2 separate regions of the Homo sapiens genome follow, and region 1 is linked to region 2. The links are contacts of gene promoters, found by promoter capture Hi-C in human tissues and cell types (Jung and others, 2019). All regions are on one chromosome and are shown on one strand. Each heading gives the region's core, a stretch centred on a gene start or on the middle of the fragment in contact. The rest is flanking DNA. Distances are from core to core; before and after follow the strand shown.

Evidence for each region. Contacts are between HindIII fragments. The study calls those that stand out against the background at their distance.
Region 1: a fragment that was not itself captured here is called in contact with the fragment with the promoter of TECTB in region 2 in 2 of the 25 tissues and cell types used here (IMR-90 fibroblasts and adrenal gland).

The regions. Positions count from the first base shown.
Region 1 is chr10:112,191,033-112,196,937 of GRCh38, reverse strand. It overlaps a transcript of GPAM not described here. Among named protein-coding and RNA genes, the nearest start is that of GPAM, 10 kb to the right of the region's middle. The HindIII fragment of the contact is 6,486 bases long and covers 1-5,550 here.
Region 2 is chr10:112,278,816-112,285,097 of GRCh38, reverse strand. TECTB (tectorin beta) reads right to left here and starts at 1,698. Exons shown (of 11, transcript NM_058222.3): 1 at 1,602-1,698; 2 at 1,288-1,450; 3 at 373-563. The coding sequence starts at 1,363. The HindIII fragment of the contact is 8,284 bases long and covers 1-4,922 here.

The DNA.
Region 1 (5,905 bases), core at 1,058-3,557, 89 kb after region 2:
CCCAGAAGTGAGAGCCTCTGGAAAAATAACTATGATGTGATTGATAAAGGGGGAAGGTGTTTTGTTACCTTGTAAGCAGAATCAGATGTGCAAAAGGAATGGGGTGAGGGAAGTGTTGGTCTCTGTGATCCATCCAACCAGTAGTAAAACAAAATGGGGCTAGAAGAAGAAATTGCACCTTGTGATCCTGGATTATGAAAAGCCTATTCTCTAATATCTCACTTGCATTTTGGAGATCATCCTTGTAATAAACATCAAATATTGTATGGAGTAAGATGATGATGACTGCTAGTTAGAAAAGATGTGGTTAAAACCATAACCAATCCTGCTATGCTTACTTAGGTTTTGCTTTATATAAGGTAATTCAGATAATTGGAAACTAGGTTCATAACACTCTTTACTTTGGAGGCCTTTTCTTTTGGGAAATCTGTAAGTTAAAAGCCAAAGACAGTTACACAGAGTATGTTTAGAACACCCAAGAGAATAAATTTTCCAAAGGAAAATATTTGAGCTTTTATATGTCAAATTTCTTTAGAAGTGTTCTAAAAATTCTAAATTTCTTTAGAAGTATTCTAAAAATTAGCCTTAGTTGAACTTAGATTGATCTTCCTTCCGATTATACTTAATGAGTGAGGTTCTACCTTACTTTGAACTCATTAGAAAAAGAATAATCTAATTGCAAAGTAGTTCAGCTTCTCCTCTTCATGAAAATTCTTTCCTATTGACAAAGACTGATTCTGAGGGAGAAACAATAAAAATAAGTCTCTAGCCATGCCTAGTTTTTCCCTTTCAAGCCTTTTCAAATTCCTTCTTTCAAGAGTATTGGGCATGTGTGTGTTTCCTCCCAGGCTCTGCTTGGCCTTGTTCTAGATTGTGGCATTCTGTTCTGTGTAGACCACCCCCTACACTGGAGATCAGGGCCCCTAGTTTTCCTTGTAGTCACATGTTTTCTCTACTCTGACCCAGGGAGTGGGGTGAGGGAGAGAAGATGGGAACTCTGCTGTCTACCTTAGATGCATGCCTGCTCTAAGAGCTACAAAGTCACAAGCCCCCAAACTCTGTGGTTCCCACATCGCTCCTTGAATGTTTCTATTCCTAAGGCTATCCTTGTTCAGGACTCTTGATAGTTATAACAGCCATGCACCCTGTCCTTTCATAAGTAGCTAATCATGTCTTGTACTTAGACATTCAACAAATAGATATTGAGCATCTGCTTTAGCAAGGTACCGTCAGGTACTAGGAATGTAGGGGAAAAGTCAAGAATGCCATTTAAGAGAGAGAGAGGGGCAGATATTAAATGATTAATTCTACAATTAAGTATTTAGTTATAATTATGGTCATTCCCATGGGGAAGAAACTTAAGAAAGGGGCCTGCCTTAGTCTGAAGGGTCCACAAAAATTTTCATGAGGCGGTGAGACTTGAGCTGTGTTATGAAGTATGAGTCAGAGAAGAGATGTGGCAGGGACCACTGCAGGCAGAGCAAATGCCAGGGAAGGGCAGAGCCTGGCTTTCGTGGGGAAGTGAAAGAAAGCCAGGGTGGCTGGAGTCAGAGAGCGAAAGAGTACGTGGACGGAGATGGGGGGTGGTGAGATTAGCAAGGGCGGACTGAGCTAGGTATTTAACACATGTTACAGGCTTTAGTTTTTGTTCTAAAATCTGTAAGGAATATATGGAAGGATTTTAGTCAGTTGGGATGGTGACAAGGGAGAGCGATGGGGGTATTTGGCATGGTGCATTTTGGCATGATGCATTTTCAAATGTTTAGGCTGGCTGATGTGTATGGGGGTATTTGGCATGGTGCATTTGGCACGCTGCATTTTCAAATGCTCGGTCTGGCTGATGTGTATGGGATGTCTGGATGGGTAGCCAGTGCAGAAGTAGATGTGGGGCATCCAGGCAGTGAGTCATTATGCCCCCCAGTGAAGATGGTGATATTTTGGATTAGGATAGTGCAGGTGGAGAGGGAGATAAGGGGGTGATGGGTTTAAAGCTATTTAAAAGGTAAAATTGTTTAAGAGTTAATGTTCTATTGGATGCAGGAAAAAGTCAAGAACTTCCAGGTTCTTGGCCTGCTGAGGAGATGGTATGAAGTGAGAATGAAGGAAGGACTTGAGCCAGCAAAACATGCCAAGAGAAAACATCTAGGGGGGTAGAAAGAAATGCAGGAGAGCACAAGGTTGTGAAAGCGGAGAGACTGCCTGGCTCTTTACACCCAGAGCTGGGACTTGCTCAGCAAGCCATCCCTACCCAATAATCTGCCGTCAGGTTATACAACAGTAGAAAGCTTGGAATGAGTCTGGGTTTGTCCATGTTAAAATCTAGTCCACCTTAGGATCTCTTTTCCAGAAGACAAGACGCTTTATTTTCATATCATTCCAGCCAGTATCTCAGCTCCACAAACCATCTTGGACAGTATCTTTTAAGAACCAATGGTGATTTTTAGGGAAATGTTCTTAAGCAATACTTAGGAACAAAAGGTTTTCCTGAAAGACATAGTGTCCGCAGAGATGCAATTTTAAGCACAGCAAAGACAACCTTTTAAAATGTTATATAGTGTAGCCTGTCTTGTTAGAAGCACCTAAGTCTCTTCATTCTACATTACGACCTTTGGTTTATCTCAGTCCAACCAGAAGTGTCATAAATGTGGTTCGATTGTCATTAGAGCTGTTCACAAATGTTTAGTTATCCGGGACACATGGTAGGATTACACTTCTTTACCCAACAAAGCGGATTAAGAGCCAGTGTACAGCTTACTACACTCTCTTTTCCAGCCTTGGCAAACACGAAGGCATGTATCAACATGGAACCTTCCTCAGCCTGGGTCCCTCAGTGACCATTATGAGCAGAGTCCCAGGATAACCTGCTGTTGACATGTAGCATAGGCAAGAAACAAACTCTGTTGTTTCAAGACTAAGACGTTTGTTACTGTATTATAATCTAGCGCATTCTGACTGATATAGTCACTCTCCCTAGAACAAAGTAACTTTAAGGGTTCATATGAGTTTCAAAAATTTAGGACAAATTTTGTGAGGATCCAAGCTCAAAGGAATAGCATTTCCTCTTTTGTCCCAAAAGTATCTGCAAGAAGTATGTTTTTCAAGCATAAGATCTTCGCAGCCTAGCCCTGAGATGAGGACGACCAAAAAACTAGAGCCAGTTCCAAAGCAAATCCTAAAAACAATTATCATAATGTTTTCAGACCTGGGATCTGCTAGCGCAGCTCTAACTACCATGTTCTTGCCTAGGCTAGCTGAATAATATATCCCTTGTATGTTTGGGCTTTAGTATCAGGTAGACGCTGAATTCAAAGTGTGTTTCTGCCACTTTACAGATTCTGACCTCTCCTGGTGCCTCAGTTTCCCCATCTGAAAAATGGGAGTAATAATAGTTTCTAACCCATGGGGCTATTGAGAGGACGGGCCCATCATCTGCCTGTTTGCCCTTGGATCTATTCCCCATCCTTCCCTGCTCTACTCTAGATCTTAGGACAATGCCTCCTTGCAAACTTATTCCTCAGGCTTCCTTGAAGCTTGGGTCAGCCCCAGTTGGCAGAGAGAGGATAAAAGTCATGGTATCTCCCTGTTTCTCACGTGGCACCTCCAGTGGCAGTGGCTCCATGGTTTTGGCTCCTCCTGGTCAGGACCCCCTCCTTGGTCCCAGTTGTAGCCTATGAGGAGATGGCTCTTGGCTCTGTCAACACCTGTCTTTGCCACTCCAGCCTGAGGGAGGGTAGTGATCTCGTGTTGCTGCTGATCTCTGGGCCTCACCCTTCTACTTTTGTCTTCTCTGCTCTTCCAAGACCTTTCTAAGTAGTTTTCTGTATTAAAGTCTCACTAGCAAGCTGTCTGGAAGGGGTTCGTTTTTCTGATGGCGCCATGACTGACACAGGTGATTATTTGAGAAAATGCCTCTAAAGTACTTAGAATAGTGCTTGGCACATAGAAATTGCTCAATAAAGGGTAGCTAACAAAACCTACTTACTTTCTTCCTTACCTAGATTCTCTGCGGCCAATTTAACCCAGGCGGGCAGGCCCCTGCATACAACATAGCTCCTGAATCATTGCCCACTTCTTCTCTTCCTGGTTGACCAAGTCCATAGACATGGGCTTCTATTTTGATTCACCCTTCTCTAATCTTACAAGGTAAAGGGTATTCACATACCTCCATGACATTTATGACACATGTCAGAATTTTATTTTGAATTTTCCAAACTTTTTACTATGGCTTAAAAAGACCTGGTCGGCCTGTGTTCCCAATTCCTTCCTCTGCCATTTTCCCACTTACCCACTCCAGCCACACTGGCCTTGGTTCAGTTCTCACTCTCTGCCAAGTTCTGCCCTCCCTCTGGGCTTTGGCCTGTGCTCTTCCCTCTTCTTGGAGAGGTCTGCTCTGGGCTCCTGTCTTGGCCAGGCCCTGCTCACACCCTGGCCTCAGTGTAGCTGCTCTCCCCTTTTAGGAGTCCTCCCTGACCACCTTATCCAATATCGGCCACCTCTGTTCTTCTCTGGGACAGATGCTGTTTGGATTCTTTATTGCACTTAAAAAAATTTCATTGTGATTTTAAGTTTGTTTATCTTTCTTCCTACTGTCTCCATCCCTACATACCATATGCCATTAGACCATGAATTCCACAAGGGTAGGATCTGTGTGTACCTTCTTCATCCCTGTGTCTTCAGCACTTAGCAGGATGCCTGCTGCAAAAAAGGCTCTCAGTCAGTGTGTTATGAATGAATGGATAAACGAATGAATACTGTATTACTCTGTCTTTAAATAGCTTATGTCAAAGTTCTCTTGAAGGCCAATAGTGATAATTTGGGGCATTCCACCCTCCTACCCCTTACCCTGTTGCTTGTGTTGTGCGGAAGCCAAGCAGAGGCCCTGGGTCGGCTCAGGCTGGTCCCCTTCCTCATTGCACCTTGCCTGGGCTCTGCGTGGTACTCAAAGTTCCATTCCTTTCATGACATACTCCACCACTGGGACCTTCGCTGCGGTTTCTAAGGTGCTGGACTGTCATTCTTCACAGTCCCCCCATCTTCACCCTTTTTTGAAGCCCTGCCACCTCCAAGGTTCTGCATCTGAAGGATCTCAGAGCTGAGCCACCATCAGACCCCTGAGTCCTGTCCCTTCTCAATGCCGAGCCATTCTGGCCTCCACTCTTTTCTTGGACAATCTCTCCTCCCACAATCCAGCTTGAGTCCATGAGAAAACAAAGGCCCATTTAGAATTTGTCTTCTTGGATACCAGCCCCAGTTGAGCAGCTTCTCATTTTTTTGCTTTTGATCACAAAAAGGCAGTTAGTTGCAATTACTTAGCCTACTTCCAGGTCTTAGGAAACCTCAGGATTTAAACCACAGAGCCTGGCTATGCTCCTGGGAGAAAGGAAAAATACCTTTTATTCCCTAAGAACAAGCAAACAGTAGTTAAAAATTAAGAGACATTCAAGCTAATTTCTTAACTACACTGCTCTGCTAGTTATCCCATGCAGGGCCCCAGTTTCCCTCTAGAATTGGTGCCCTGCCCAGTGGCACAGCTAGTGGCTAGAAGCGTGAAATACTACCTAGTTCCCACCGTGCTTTCTTCCTGGGGAGTTGAACCTTGTCATGTACCCTATCTGGTGGGAGATGGCAAGAGAGATCTCCCAGAAGCCTGGCTGCTTACTGCCTGGCTCCAGTGTATTTGATGACCATCTTGAGAGACTGCTGCTCTAACCTGCCTCATCACAAAGACACTTTCCATTCTAGGCTGTCCGAGTTGGACCTGGACTTGGTGCATTCTTTGAACACTATGTCTTGTTATAACTAACTTCAGTGTCCAGGAAAATGTGCTTGTCTTCCCGTCTGATTGGCTCTGCCCTCCTCACTCTCCCTCCTAGAATGAGGTCCCAGCATGCCTTATGCTTGAGCC
Region 2 (6,282 bases), core at 449-2,948:
TTGTCACCACTTTGAAGTCTCAGGCAGAGAATGGCTCATCCATCCACCCATCCAATCTAGGAAGGATGGCGGCTTGTGAGCACAGGCTCAGAACTTGAAGGTGGGAAATGTACTTTGTTCTACTAGAAGGTAGCTTCACTGGCTTTGGCAACAAATTAGGAGGATAAGAGTCAAGCCAAAAGAGTTATCTAAACTAGGCAGAAGAGAATATTTTAAATAACACCAACATTCCAGGATATTTGGGAATCAGGACTGACCTTTAAAAGGAAATGGGTAAATTCTGAATCCTTTCAAGGACAGATGGCAGACATCTCATTCTTGGGTCCAGTTGCCTTACCTTAAACAACTCTGCACTGTGTGGCCTGGTCTTACCTCAGACTGGGTTCCACAATAGGACTTGTTTTTAGGTGATAAATCTGGGATCACAAATTGGTAGTAACCTCCTTCGTGGACCCCATTGTAACACAGCCCTCCGAGGGCCAGCTGATGAACTTCCCATCCATAGGGACACTCGGGGATTTTGGTGATGATGGTTTTGGGATAGCAAAACACAAGAATGACATCTGGAAAGAGCACACATATAGTTTAAAATCAGTTAGGGTAATCATGCTAACCTACGTAACGAACAGTGGATTCCAGCTACACCTGAGCATGCAAAAGCAGTTGGTTAAAAACACCTTCCCTGCTATTCCTCACCAGCTGTGACAAAAGTTTTCCCCAAACTTCAGTCATTGAAGAGTCACTCTCACAGTTTTTGCTGCATTTATTTAATGACTGCACCACGTTTAACATGGAATTAAAATTAGTCCATTTGGAACAAGGAATGTATCTGTGAAACCACAGGTAGGATGTATTAGACATACATAAATATATATTAAAATCTCCATAACAATGAGCACATAATTTAAACATTTTAAATGTCAATTTCATGCATAATATTGTGAAATACTGATTTAGGGCACAAGATAGAAATTCAGTAGTTGAATGGAAAAAAAAGTGGAGATGTTTTATATATATATATAATGGGATGTGGGGAGAGAGTGTGTAAGTAAGAGAGTGAAATAGAGCAAGCATTCTCTAATTAAAAAAAAAGTCCGAGTTTATCCAATACATCTTTGCTCCATTTGGGAAAAGTCTGATTGGTATTGGAGGGGGTGCTTAAGTACTTTCCTGCTTGGCTACATCATTACATTTTTATAACAAGTTAAGCACAGAAGTGCTGAGCATTGTAAAAGGAAACTTCAGGAAACTTTTCGTCCCAGGAAAATGGACTTGGCGAGGACATACCTGCTTTATTTGGAGCACACGATTTTGCAGAGGCTTCTGCAAAGATGGCCAACAAGACAAAGGCCTTCGTCACCATTGCTTCTCAGAACCTGGTCTCTGCCAGGTATCCAAACCAAGCTGGCCAAATGTTTACGGTCCTTCCAGGGCCTGAGCCTCGATCATTCTAAGTCAGAAACATGAATGAAAAGTTAAAATCAAGGGAAGAACAAAGCCGCACATACAGTCTTGGGGAAATTTTCAAGGGAGATAAACGATGTTGTGTCGTTTCTAATTGTTTCCTGTTAGCGCTGAGAGGCAAAAAGTGGGGCTCATACCGTTGGAAGCGTCAATGACACATGGAGTTGTTCATGTTCCCGACTGTTTCATCCTCTCCGGACTGTAGAGGCTGGCTGCTGGATGCTCCCCAAATCTGCTGCCCCAGTCCTAGTTTGACTTTATATAGCCCGAGGATGTAAAAGAAACCAGCTCCAGATAAGTCACAATGAGCATGCATTATCCACTGTGTGGGGAATAAAAAGGGGGGCTAGCACAGTAATCCGATGGGAAGCTCAGTTACTTGAATCTAATTTCTTTTGCTTTACAGAGTTGGAAAAACTTTTTTTTAACTGCTTCAACCAAGATTGGGAGGAAAAGTTGATTTTTTCCCCTTTTGTACAGAAAATAACTCTGAATGGAGGCAAACTATTTCTGTACAATTCCAGGTGACAGTTTTAATTCTTTTGTCTTGCTTTCTTTGCTTTATTTCCTGCTTTCTTATTTTTGTATGTAGGTAAACTAAACTTTGATAAGAAAACTCAGGTTTAACATTGTTGCACCTGATAACTATAAATATATGTGTGTGTGTGTGTGTGAACGTAAACATTTTAAAGGATTTTCCCTCTAATTAAAAAACAATAAATAAACTCTAGTGTCTTGAACTTCATCCTGAAGAACAACTTTTAATTGTACACCCTTGAGATTTCTAAAGCTTTATTAGTCTCCCAGAGCAATGACATTGGAAGAAGAAACTTAGAAAGTCTCTCTTATAATTCAATTCTTAGTCACCCGACAAGATCCCACTGAAAACAACAGATAACATGCTACTCCCATGAAGGTTCCAGATATATTATTGATAATGCACATCATTTAATGTTTCAAAACATTGGGAGGTATCTTATAAGCAACATGCATAAGTAATACAGTACAGTTTCCTTATTTCCTCAAAACCTATTGTTAAATTGATGGGATGTTTTATAATGATGGTATCAAAGAATGAAGGAAATAGCCATGTGGCAAGCCATTAAAAAGTTCTGTAACTCAGTTTCCTTCTGTGTAAAATGGTGGCTGTGATTCTGGGCTGAACTTACAGAGTAGGAGAGCAATGATGTAAAGGCTCTTGTAAACTGTAAGTAGTACATAAATAAGTAGATTACATGAAAAGACAACTGACAATTTCCAGTAGCATGTATGTGTCCCATGAGTTGCTTTTCCTTTCTTTACATGCAACACAAAGTGACTCATTGTAGATTTATGATTCACGTAACAGGAGGCATATCTGTATTGTATGACACGTATGCAAAATATTTTATGGATGATGAACAAATGAGCTGAGAGGGAGAAGAGAAAGAATATATTAAAAAAATTTTTTAAACAGTAGGATCAAGTTTATTGTGGCCTGGAAACATTGCCGTATTTCTTTTTTATTATTATTATACTTTAAGTTGTGGGGTACATGTGCAGAACGTGCAGGTTTGTTACATAGGTATACACGTGCCATGGTGGTTTGCTGCACCCATCAACCCATCATCTACATTAGGTGTTTCTCCTAATGCTATCCCTCCCCTAGCCCCCCACCCCCCAACAGGCCCTGGTGTGTGATGTTCCCCTCCCTGTGTCCATGTGTTCTCATTGTTCAACTCCCACTTATGAGTGAAAACATGCAGTGTTTGGTTTTCTGTTCTTGTGTTAGTTTGCTGAGAATGATGGTTTCCAGCGTCATCCATGTCCCTGCAAAGGACATGAACTCATCCTTTTTTATGGCTGCATAGTATTCCATGGTGTATATGTGTCACATTTTCTTTATCTGCTCTATCATTGATGGGCATTTGGATTGGTTCCAAGTCTTTGCTATTGTGAACAGTGACATTGGCATATTTCTACTGTTCTCCATAGTTCATTCCTGAGCAGAAAAAAGACACTTGAATCTCGAAAATATGTGTGAATTCTCTGAGTTCCTCTTTCCTGGGGCTTAGCACTAACTCTCTGTGTATCTTTTCCCCTCTTTTTTAGTAAGCATTTATTGAGCCCCTGTGGTATACTGGACCAGGCCCTGGGAAGATGCATGCACTTCATGTGGCTTCTTTCCCTGAGGAACTAGGGGAGGAGAGGACACAGAGATAGGACTATGGGATGGAGAGGAGGAAAAAGGGACCATCAGAATGCTTGGCAGGTAAGTCAAGCCACAGAAGAGTACAACAGCCCAACTGCATAAGGAAAGGCTTCTGATGTGACATAAACGATTATTCATCACTGGCAATTCAGTATTGTTTTTTGTTTTTGTTTTTTGTTTTTAATTGAGACTGAGTCTCACTCTGTCACCCAGGCTGGAGTGCAGTGGTGTGATCTCAGTTCACAGCAACCTCTGCTTCCTGGGTTCAAGCGATTCTCCTGGCTCAGTCTCCCGAGTAGCTGGGATTACAGGCACACACCACCACACTTGGCTAATGTTTTGTATTTTTTTTAGGAGAGATGGGGTTTCACCATGTTGGCCAGGCTGGTCTCGAACTCCTGAGCTCAAGGGATCCACCTGCCTCGGCCTCCCAAAGTGCTGGGATTATAGGTGTGAGCCACCATATCCGGCCTCAGTATTGTTTTTTTACATGGTTTGGAGTACTTGTTCACATTTCAAGAGGATTCTACAGATATGTATCTCTTTTCAACCAACTTTGGCCCAGGCAAGTCAACAGTGTCATCTTACCTCTGACTTAGCAGGGCAGGGGTCACTCATGGACAGGGCTGCAGTGGATATAGACACCTTTCCTCTTTCCCAGCAGAAATGTCTGATGGGTGCTTGCAAGATGCTGCGAGATGTGATAGGAGAAGCCTGGGCAGTTGGACTCTGCTGTTTGCCTGAAATCCAAAGTCCACCTCAGTCATTACTAACTGTGTGTTCTTGGGCAGATTACTTGGCTTCTGGGAATTTTAATTTCCTCCTCTCCTGAAAGGATATGCTAATATCTATGACACAGTGTTACTCAGACTATTAAATGAGATATATGTCTGCTAGCACAGACATGGCTTATTTTTCCCGATCAGGGCAAGGCACCAGGAAAGCCTTTTGTGTCTGTGCTTAGCTCTGCTTGGGAAATTCAAAGAGGGAAGCCTAGTAGGAGTGGGTCACCCCTAGATAACACACATTATTGTCATCAGCCCTGGATTACATCATATGTAACTAAGATCACAGGTTCTGAAATTAGAGGTCATGGCACTGTCACATTTCCAATGGTGTTATCTTGGGTTCATAACTTGACCTTTCTAAGCCTACAGTGTTCAAATCTGTAAAATGGGGCTTCTCATTGCCTATGGCTTTTGCAAAGATAGAATGAAATAAGGCATATAAATTGCTTAGCACAGTGCCTGGACACAGTAAGCACTCTATGAAGACTCGCTGCCCTGAAGTGTGTTCATCTGAGGTTGGTATCCTCAGGCTGGAAGGACCTGTCAGTGGCGTTCTCATGTGAACTCTGGGTGTTTGCTAATGGTAATATTTCTCTCTTTAGAAGTCCACCTTAACAAAAGAGCAGGTGCTTTTGATTTCTAGAGAAGTCTGATAGCGATAAGATCCTGGGACAGAGAAAGAGATGTCGCCTACAATTTCTTAGGGTGGGAATCCAGCTAACCATCAGGTACATGATACTCCTTTCAAGGACGAGCTGAATGAAATTGGGAAGTAGATTTAACTTTTGTGGCAGGCTGGTCTCTAGATGTTTAATTTGCATACGAAAGAGAATGGGACAAAATGTACTTGGGCCAAACAGTATTTGATACTTGCTCTGATAAAAGTCAGGAGGCTTCTATTTTTCCTGGTAAGTACCCCCGCCCCCATACCAATGCCCCAGCCCATCCCCTCTCTGCTTTGCAACACTCTCTCTCCCTCACATGAAGGTGGAGGGGGAGGGGGTGCCACTGGGAGATGGAATGCAAAAGCAAAGTCTCTCACTGAGAAGCACACTGAATTTTGCTGTTTCTTCAAAAACACACAAACTGAATGGAAGATCTTAACATTCACAGGACCTCGAGTGAGCCCAAGAAAGGGAATTTTATGGCAGACTTATCTAAAAGATGAGCTTGTCTGACCTGTACCTTTCTTTTGTGAATTGCCTAGCAATAGAAGGTACCTATTCTATTTGAAGGCCCTGAATGATTTGGGAAAGCTGCGGCCAGAAACAAAAGCATTTCCATTTGCAAAATTCCAATCAATATTTTCATTCACAGCCCAGAAATCATACAGGCAATGAATCATTTGATAAACAACACCAGTAAACCCATACTGAGGTAACAGATAATACTTCAGACATAATGCTAGCAAGCGTGCATTAAAGATTAAAAAACTGCTTTATTGACTTATTTTTTAGAGTACTCTATTTTGAGTTCATTAAATGTTAAATGAACTCCATTGTTTCCTTATAGCTCTGAATCAAGCCTTCTTCTACTTTGTGGGCGGCTCTGTTTGCCAATTTGCAAATGAGTGGGTGTTTCCCTGCAGGCTTCAATGGCTCAAACCTCACACTACTCCCCAGGAATTAACAATTCCCCAGAGAAAGTGATGGAAAAGGAGAACTGAGAAGTGAGAAAAGATCCACTGGTAATAGTGCATCAGGAATTAAGAGTAAGACACCCTGCCTCCCCCATCTCTCAGCTGACCCTGAAGCTATCAGCTTCAGAAACCCACATTGCTCCAGGCAGATAAACTGGCCCCTCCAGGAGATCTTGGAATCTTTTCTGGCTAATTTCTAA